Linked DNA regions of Homo sapiens: region 1 is linked to region 2. Evidence: promoter capture Hi-C in 16 types of primary human blood cells and fetal thymus (Javierre and others, 2016). All regions are on one chromosome and are shown on one strand. The core of a region is centred on a gene start or on the middle of the fragment in contact, and the rest is flanking DNA. Distances in the headings are between cores, read along the strand shown.

The links. Contacts are between HindIII fragments. The CHiCAGO score rates a contact against its expected background, and 5 or more counts as called.
Region 1: a contact is called between the fragment with the promoter of SIRT2 here and the fragment with the promoter of KCNK6 in region 2, in 1 of 17 cell types (neutrophils). The highest score is 6.2, in neutrophils.

The regions. Positions count from the first base shown.
Region 1 is chr19:38,897,949-38,902,714 of GRCh38, forward strand. It overlaps SIRT2 (sirtuin 2), which reads right to left and starts at 1,670. Exons shown (of 16, transcript NM_012237.4): 1 at 1,558-1,670; 2 at 431-477. The coding sequence starts at 1,573. It overlaps NFKBIB (NFKB inhibitor beta), which reads left to right and starts at 2,021. Exons shown (of 6, transcript NM_002503.5): 1 at 2,021-2,263. The coding sequence starts at 2,085. The HindIII fragment of the contact is 23,515 bases long and covers 1-4,766 here.
Region 2 is chr19:38,317,187-38,321,475 of GRCh38, forward strand. It overlaps KCNK6 (potassium two pore domain channel subfamily K member 6), which reads left to right and starts at 2,659. Exons shown (of 3, transcript NM_004823.3): 1 at 2,659-3,086. The coding sequence starts at 2,765. It also overlaps a transcript of YIF1B not described here. RefSeq lists an enhancer at 2,487-3,110 and a silencer at 2,752-2,841. The HindIII fragment of the contact is 18,756 bases long and covers 2,187-4,289 here.

The DNA of each region.
Region 1 (4,766 bases), core at 420-2,919, 580 kb after region 2:
GCGCCTCAGTCTCCTGAGTTATTGGAATTACAGGCATAAGCCACTGCATCTGGCCCCCTGAGTTACTTTCGTCATCACGCTGTGAGATCATTTTTTCCCATCACTTGTCCACGAGATCTGTGCGTTCCAAGACCAAATGGGATACCTGTCTCTTCCAGTCCCAGGACAAATGTGGTTCAGAAGGGATGGCAGGCAGTGGCAAGGAAGAAGGAAAGTTTGGGAGGACAGGCCTGGACTTGAGGCTGGAAACTCTTCTCTGACAATCCCCAGAATCTGCCTTTCCCCAGAAAGCTGCACTGGGTGGTGTGAGGGATTGGGGCAATGAGCCGAGGGCCCTGGGGTGACTGTTTCCCCTTTGCCACCTCCCCCCAGTGTGGGATGTGGAACAAGTCCGTCTCTCTCCTCCCCTCCACCCTTTCCCCCATCTCACCTGAGCCTCCTGCACCTTCCCTGCCTGGGTCTCCAGAGGGTGAGAGGCTGGGGGAGGGGAGCAGAGGTGGTTACAGTGGGGAGAACGATTAAGGGGGGAATAAAGGGGTTCAAATGGTCAGTGAGGGGGCAAGAACACCCACCAACCTAGTTACACTGGGATGGGATGGTGGTAAAAATGGAGCAGAGGGAGGGAGGGGACGGAGAAAAGATCTTATCTACATGCAAAGTGATGCCGGGAGAGGTGATTAGTGAGGGGCAGAGAGGCTGGAGAGGAAGATTTAGGGGGACAGGGAGAAAGTAGGGGCTTTTGCCCAGGCTGGTCTTGAACTCCTGGGCTCAAGCGATCCAACCACCTTGGCCTCCCAAAGTACTGGGATTACAAGCATGAGCCATTGTTTCTGGCCCTGACTTACTTTCTTTCTTTTTTACTTTTTAGAGAAAGGGTCTCGCTCATGTCACCCAGGTTGGAGTGCAATAGTGCGATCATAGCTCACTGCAGCCTCAAATTCCTGGGCTCAAGCGATCCTCCTCCTCCTACCTAGGGGATTCAGGGCATGAAGGAACACTCAGGAGGAGTTAGGAAGGACACGACAGTGTGTGAGTGTGTGTGCGGGGAGGGTTAGATTTACAAGGCAGAGGGAAGTTTAGAAAGGAAAAGAGAAGGGAAGAGACGCTTTGGCTGGGAGGCAGGTTTAGGAGGGAGGTGCAGTGGTGCAGTGGAGGCGGTAGGTTTAGGAGAGGCGCGGAACAAGGGGAAGCCATAGGAGGGGTCAGCAGGGGTCCCTCAGCATCCTCTGGTTGCCTCTAACAATCAGGTACCCATAGCAAGCGGGACCGGGGCAACTTATGTTCTTTGCAGCGAGGGACCTTAGCAACCAAGGTGCGAGAAACACGCGATCATTGGCAACTTGGCAAGTGGATGTGGTAAACGAACCCTGAACACACTGCGACCCAGAAACCCACCAGCCTAGCGATACAGATCGCTAAGCAACAGCCCTCAGAATCCCACTCCCCGAAGCGCTCCCTACTTCCCGCCCCACCGCGGCCACCCTTGGGCCCCGGGGCCTGCAGCATTCAGCCAGGCCCCGGCGCGGCCCGACCCTCCTACCCGGATCCCCGACTCACGGTCTGGCTCTGCCATGGGCGCGGTGCTGAAGCCCTTGAGGCTGTCACCGACCGCTCTGTCCCGTCACCAACCACTGTGTCCCGTCACCGACTGCTCTGTCCTGTCACCGACTGCTCTGTCCCGTGACGGCACCAGAAATGGGAGTGGCCGTGATAGGGCACAGAACTACAACTCTCAGCAGACATTGCGGCCGCAGACGCGCTTTCGTACAACACCCAGAGCGCCCCAGTTAGGTAAGAAAGCGCGCGAGGACCGGACTACGAGTCCCAGAAGGCGTGGCGTCAGCAGCCATGTTGGTAAAGGGCGCCCGGAAAATGTGGGAACGGCTAGAGAGTTGTAGTCCTCCCGAATACTCTGATTGGTCAGGATGCAGTACGAGGGCGGGGTGTGAGCGATTCAGCATATTATCATTGGGTGAATCAGGGGGCGTGGTGGGGAATTTCCCGCAGGGCGGAAGCTCCAGAACTCCCGGCAAAGCCCAGCTACAGGCGGGCGACTGCGGGGGGCCCCTGAGGCGGCGGGGGCCATGGCTGGGGTCGCGTGCTTGGGAAAAGCTGCCGACGCAGATGAATGGTGCGACAGCGGCCTGGGCTCCCTGGGTCCGGACGCAGCGGCCCCCGGAGGACCTGGGTTGGGCGCGGAGTTGGGCCCGGGGCTGTCGTGGGCTCCCCTCGTCTTCGGCTACGTCACTGAGGATGGGGACACGTGAGTGAACCTTAGGCTGCCAAACGGAGCCCTAGGACCCGGCGTCACATTCCTCATTAATCTCTGATCCCTGAGGCTTCCTAACCTCATACTCCTAAATCTGACTTCCGATGCTGAACTTCCTGACCTCTAACCCCCGAGTCCTAACTTTTAACAAAACCAATCTTCTATCTAGCTATGATCCTAACCCAATCATTTCTTACCTTCTTTTCTTGAACTATGATTCTCAGCTCCTGGAATCCACATTGTATCCACTGATACCCAAACCTGACTCCAGTCCTGAGACTTCTGTTAGAACTGTGGCTTCTCCTGACTTCTAACCTCCAAATATGATCTTTGATTCTTAGTTCCCGATTTGAGCCCTAGAGTTTGATTTCCGAAATTAATACTTGGTCCCTGACTCTAAGATCCTGTCTTCTGAGCAGTGTTCTTCAAATCTTAAATTCAAAGAGAGAGAATGTAAGCTCTTCTATGTTGAATTCCTAATTAAAGTAAAAAAATAGGAAAATTAAAAAAAAGAATGTTAGCTCCATGAGACCAAGGATTCATCTGTTAAACAAATATTCTTTACACATTACCACGTTCCAGGCTCCGTTTAGGTGCTAGTGATAAAGGCAGTGAAGAAAACAAACAAAAACTTAAGCCCTTGTGGAGCATACATTTTAGTGGAGCTAAATAAACAGATTGATAAGACCACAAGGAAGGAAAGAAATGGAAAGACAGGAAGAAACAAAGAAAGACACGCAGAAAGAAAGAAACATAGAAAGTAAGAAAAGGAAATAAAGTCAGAGGTAGTTAAGTACTTTGGAGAAAAATAAAGCAGGAAAATGAGGCAATAGATAAACAAGATAAGAGCATTTCAAGGAGAAGGAACTGCAGTTGCAAAGGCCCAGATGAGGGATTGTACTGGGTTTTTTGTCTGTTGTGTTTACTGCTGTATGCCCAGTGATGCAAGCAGGGCCTGATCCAGGAGGCACTGAATATTGATCTCAACCAGCTTTATAGTCTCGTTAATTTTCATTAAATTTCATTAATTAATTTTGGTTTCATTAATTTTTTTTTACTTTCTATTCAATTGGTCTCTGTTCTGACTTTTTTTTTTGAAACGAAGTCTCACTCTGTCGCCCAGGCTGGAGTGCAGTGGCATGATCATGGCTTACTATAGCCACAACCTCCTGGCTCAAGTGATCCTTGCACCTCAGCCTCCTGAGTAGCTGGGACCACAGGCACATGCCACCATGCCTGGCAAATTTTTAAATTTTTTTGTCCCCCTATGTTCTCAAACTCTTTTTTTTTTTTTGAGACAGAGTCTTGTTCTGTCACCCAGGCTGGAGTATAGTGGCACTATCTCTGCTCGCTGAAACCTCTGACTCCTGGGTTTAAGCAGTTCTACTGCCTCAGCCTCCCAAATTTGGGATTACAGGCACGTGCCCCCACACCTGGCTAATTTTTGTATTTTTAGTAGCAACAGCAGTTTCACCATGTTGGCCAGGCTGGTCTCAAACTCCTGACCTCAGGTGATCCACCCGCTGTGGCCTCTCAGAGTGCTGGGATTACAGGTGTGAGCCACTGTGTGCAGCTGTGGTCTCAAACTCTTGAGCTCAAGCATTCTTCCCACCTTGGCCTCCCAAAGTGCTGGGTTACAGGGATGAACCACTGTGCCCAGACAGTCTCTGCCTTTTAATTAGTGTTTAGACCATTTACATTTAATTTGATATTGATATGATTGTGTAAATTTATCCCATGTCTATTATATATATTCTACTTACCTATGTTTTCTTTTTCCTCCCTCCTTTTTGCCTTTTATTGGGTATAGTTTTTGTTACTTTTTTTTCAATCCTGCTCCTTCTGTATAGTGTTTTTCATTTTATTTCTTTTTTTTTTTTTGAGATGGAGTCTCGCTCTGTCACCCAGGCTGGAGTGCAGTGGTGCAATCTCGGCTCACTGCAAGCTCCGCCTCCCAGGTTCATGCCATTCTCCTGCCTCAGCCTCCCGAGTAGCTGGGACTACAGGCACCTGCCACTTCGCCTGGCTAATTTTTTTTGTATTTTTAGTAGAGACGGGGTTTCACCGTGGTCTTGATCTCCTGACCTTGTGATCCGCCCGCCTCGGCTTCCCAAAGTGCTGGGATTACAGGCGTGAGCCACCGCGCCCGGCCTCATTTTATTTCTTTTGTTTGCTTATTAGATATTCCTCTTTTTGTTATGTTAGTGGTTGCTTTAAGGTGGGGGTTGGCAAACTATGGCCTCCAGGCAAAATCTAGCCAGCCATCTGCTTTTGTATGGTTGTGAGCTAAGAATGGTCTTTACATTTTTAAACAGTTTCTAAAAATCAAAAGAATAATAATATTATATGGCTTTTGTATGGTTGTGAGCTAAGAATGGTCTTTACATTTTTAAACAGTTTCTAAAAATCAAAAGAATAATAATATTATATGGCAAGTGAAAGTGTATGAAATTCATATTTCAAGCTCCATAAATAAAGTTCTTTTGGAACGCAAGCA
Region 2 (4,289 bases), core at 1,409-3,908:
AGTCTCTCCTCTCTCTGACTCTCAGTCTCCCCCCTTCTCTCCCTCTCAGACTCCCCGACTTATCTCAGGAAAACATAGTGGTGGAAGTTACTTCTGCGCAGCGATAGCGCATCCGGAAGGATGTCAGCAAGTGACCCTATCGCTGTGGCTTCCTCTTCCTCCTCTGAGACGTTGTCTTTTTGGAGACCTTAAGGGCTGCTCCTGGTTTCTCAGTGATGAGTGCTGGCTCCACTGTGGTTCCTTTTTGTGAGCGAAATGCCCGCATTCTTCTTCACCTCTGATTTAGCCTCTGTCCCCTGGGCTCCAACACCATTTTCTCCTCATCCTCAGCCCTCTCTTGCTCTGGTTGCTCCAGATACATCTCTTCCATAAATGTTTTTTTTTTTCTTATTGCTTTTTTGTTTGTTTTTTGAGATGGAGTCTTGCTCTGTCGCCCAGGCTGGAGTGCAGTGATGCGATCTCGGCTCACTGCAACCTTTGCCTCCTGGGTTCAAGTGATTCTCCTGCTTCAGCCTCCCGATAGCTGAGATTACAGGCGTGTGCCATCGCACCTGGCTAATTTTTTGTATTTTTAGTAGAGACAGGGTTTCGCCATGTTGGCCAGGCTGGTCTCGAACTCCTGACCTCAGGTGATCCACCTGCCTTGGCCTCCCAAAGCACTGAGATTACAGGCATGAAACACCGCACCCAGCCTTATGTATATATATTTAATTAATAAAGCAAGTACTGCCAAGTGCAGCGGATCACGCCTGTAATCCCAGCACTTTGGGAGGCCAAGGCGGGCAGATCACCTGAGGTCAGTTTGAGACCATCCTTGCCAACATGGCGAAACCCTGTCTCTACTTAAAATACAAAAATTAGCTGGGTGTTGTGGCGGGCATCTATAATTCCAGCTACTTAGGAGGCTGAGGCAGGAGAATTGCTTGAACCCAGGAGGCAGAGGTTGCAGCGAGCCGAGATTGTGCCATTGCACTCCAGCCTGGGAGACAGAGCGAGACTCTTGTCTCAAAAAAAAAAAAAAAAAAAAAAAAAAAGCAAGTTCATTAGTTCATTGGCTTCCTGCTGGCCTCATGTTCACCCCTTACCAGTTGTGTGACTACTACTTTTTATTTTTTTGAGGCAGGGTCTACTCTATCACCCATACTGGAGTGCAGTGGTGCGACCATAACTCATTGCAGTCTCTAATTCCTGAGCTCAAACGATCCTCCTGCCTCAGCCTCCCGAGTAGCTGGGACTACAGACGCATGCCACCACACTTGGCTAATTTTTGTATTTTTTGTCGAGATGGGGTTTTGCCATGTTGCCCGAGCTGGTCTCAAATGACTACTTCATTTTTAAGCCTAAATTTTCTCATCTGTTTAGTGGGAATTATATTGGGACGGGGTTGAGAATTCAGTGCAAGTTCAGGTGTCCACAGGGCCTGGCAGAATGTAAGCCTTCGATCACTGGCACCTATTGTGTTACTGATTCTATTATCAGGTGCCTCTGCTTCTGGATTGTCAACCCCAAGTTGGGCTCTGCCCGGTGATCTGCCAGCTCTTTAATAGAACCAGCTGGGACATGTCTGAGCTGAGCCCCAAGCCCCACTCCTCTGCCAGTCGGATGGGGTTAGGACTCTGGGCTGCCCTCCAAAAGGCTGTCAGGAAGGCGCTGAGTTCTGGCTGGAGGCAGAAGTGGAGAGACTTACGGGGGGGCGCAGAAAGAAAAATTTCCTCTTAAATAGAGGCGTGTATTTGTGATTCTGCCTGGCTTGTTTCCATTCATCCTTCATGCTTCAGCTCAGCTAGCCCCTTCCTCAGGAAGCTCTCTTGACCTCCCTAGGCAGGGGTGGTTGCTTCCTCTGGACTCCCAGGGCCCTCTAGGGCTCCCTGATTCCAGGCTTGATCATTGTACCCTTGCTTCCCTCATCACAGCCCTGACCACTCTGGGCTGTCTTTTTTCTTTTTTTTAGAGATAGGGTCTCACTCTCTCCCAGGCATAGCTCACTGCAGCCTCGAACTCCTGGGCTCAAGCAATCCTCCGACCTCAGCCTCCCGAGTAGCTGGGACAACAGGCGTGGGTCACTCTTGTGTCAGTCTCCCAGTTAGACTGGGAGCCCCATGAATGCATGGCGCAGGATGGTCTCATCATTACTGAGTCTCCAGGATCATCCAGCGAGGGGTCAGCAGAAAGTGGGCATTGAACAAAGCTTTGGTGAGTAGCTGAGGATCCCCACTCTGTCCACACGGGCACAGGGGACACCTGACTCTGTGGTGTCCGCTGTTCCCACTCCGAGGCTCACAACTTGGCGAATGGAGCGAGAATTGGATTTCAGTTTGCCCCTTGCTCCGTCAGCCGCGCGCCCTGATGCAGTGCACAACCTTAGCTGCTGTGCGCGATGGGGGGCGACTCCTCGGCCTGCGAGCAGAGAGGAAAGTTCAGATTCTTCTAACATAGAGAACCAGCCTTCCAGGAGGACGAGAAGGAAGGAATGAGGGGAAGAGAGGACTACCTCCACCCTTTCCATCCCGTTGGTCTGCTGGGTCTGGGAGCACTGGGCTCCACCCTCTCCGAACGAACACCTGGCGGTTGGGCGTGCCTCAGTTTCCCGGAGGCGGGGCATTCCTCCGTCGCCGCCCCCCACCTCCCCTTTTTCCTCTTCCTCTTGGGGCATCTGCTGCCGCGCCTGTAGCACTCCCGGAACTGGAACTAGGTGCCAGACGGTCCGGAGGCGGGGGCCACGTCAGCGGGGCCACCCAGGGCTCGCGGGGTCCCGGTGGGTGCCATGCGGAGGGGCGCGCTTCTGGCGGGCGCCTTGGCCGCGTACGCCGCGTACCTGGTGCTGGGCGCGCTGTTGGTGGCGCGGCTGGAGGGGCCGCACGAAGCCAGGCTCCGAGCCGAGCTGGAGACGCTGCGGGCGCAGCTGCTTCAGCGCAGCCCGTGTGTGGCTGCCCCCGCCCTGGACGCCTTCGTGGAGCGAGTGCTGGCGGCCGGACGGCTGGGGCGGGTCGTGCTTGCTAACGCTTCGGGGTCCGCCAACGCCTCGGACCCCGCCTGGGACTTCGCCTCTGCTCTCTTCTTCGCCAGCACGCTGATCACCACCGTGGGTACGTAAGCGCCTCACCGCAAGGCGGCGAGGACCCGGGATCCCCACTTCATCCTTAACCCCTGGGGACCCCGGGGCCCTCACGAATACCCTTATCCCAATCCCCTCTGGGCTTCGGATCCCCCGAAAAGACCCCAGTGAGGACCCGGGACCCAGGCTCATGATATCTGCTCTGCTCGGGGAGCCCAAGTCCGAGCCCTTCCTCCTAAGTAGGAAACACCCAGCTCCCCTCAGAGTACCTTTGCAGAGACCAGCTGGGACCCCGTTCCTCGGTCTTTTTTTTTTTTCTTTTCTTTTTCTTTTTTTGAGACAGGGCTTACTCTGTCGCCCAGGCTGGAGTGCAGTGGCACGATCTCGGATCACGGCAGCCTCCGCCTCCCGGTTTCAAGCTATTCTCCTGCTTCAGCCTGCCGAGTAGCTGGGATTACAGGCACATACCACCATGCCTGGCTAATTTTTGTATTTTCAGTGGAGACGGAGTTTCACCATGTTGGCCAGGCTGGTCCCAAACTCCTGACTTCAGGTGATCAGCCCGCCTCGCCCTCCCAAATTGCTGGCATTACAGGCTTGAGCCACTGCACTGGGACTGCATTCCCCGGTCTTAATCCTCTTGGTGACCCGGGTCTGTCCAGCCCCCTCTAAGCCTAGGACTGTCCTCAGAGACCTCCAGCAAGGACCCAGGACACGCCACCCTCCAAGGGAGATCCTTGCCCCCTCTGGACCCAGAACTCAACCATGCCAGGACCCCTGACTTTATCTCTAGTCTGGGCCTGCCACCCTTGCCATGTCTCCTGACCCTCCAGATATGTCCTTCTGGGAAACCCCCCTGGAGAAACCCCATCTCAACCTCCTCCTGACCCTGGCGCCTTAGCGAGGACCCTAAATCTCCAGACCTCTCAGGGTGTCCTCACTAAAGACCTCCCTCCCAACAGAGATTCCTCAGCAAGGACCTGGCACCGCCATCTGGGACTCCTGGCCCTCTGGACCTGGGCCTCTGCTCCAGACTGTCATCTGTCTCCTGGCCCCATACTCCCCAGCAGGCAACTCTGACCCCAGACACAAAACCCTTCCCTAGGTACCCCACCCCATCTTGACATCTCCCCTATATGGGGTCACTCTCAATGCAGGATTTTCCTCCCAATAGGGACACCACCTGTTCCCTCTGGACCTGGGACTCCCAATTCAGCAGCCCCAGCTAGGGATG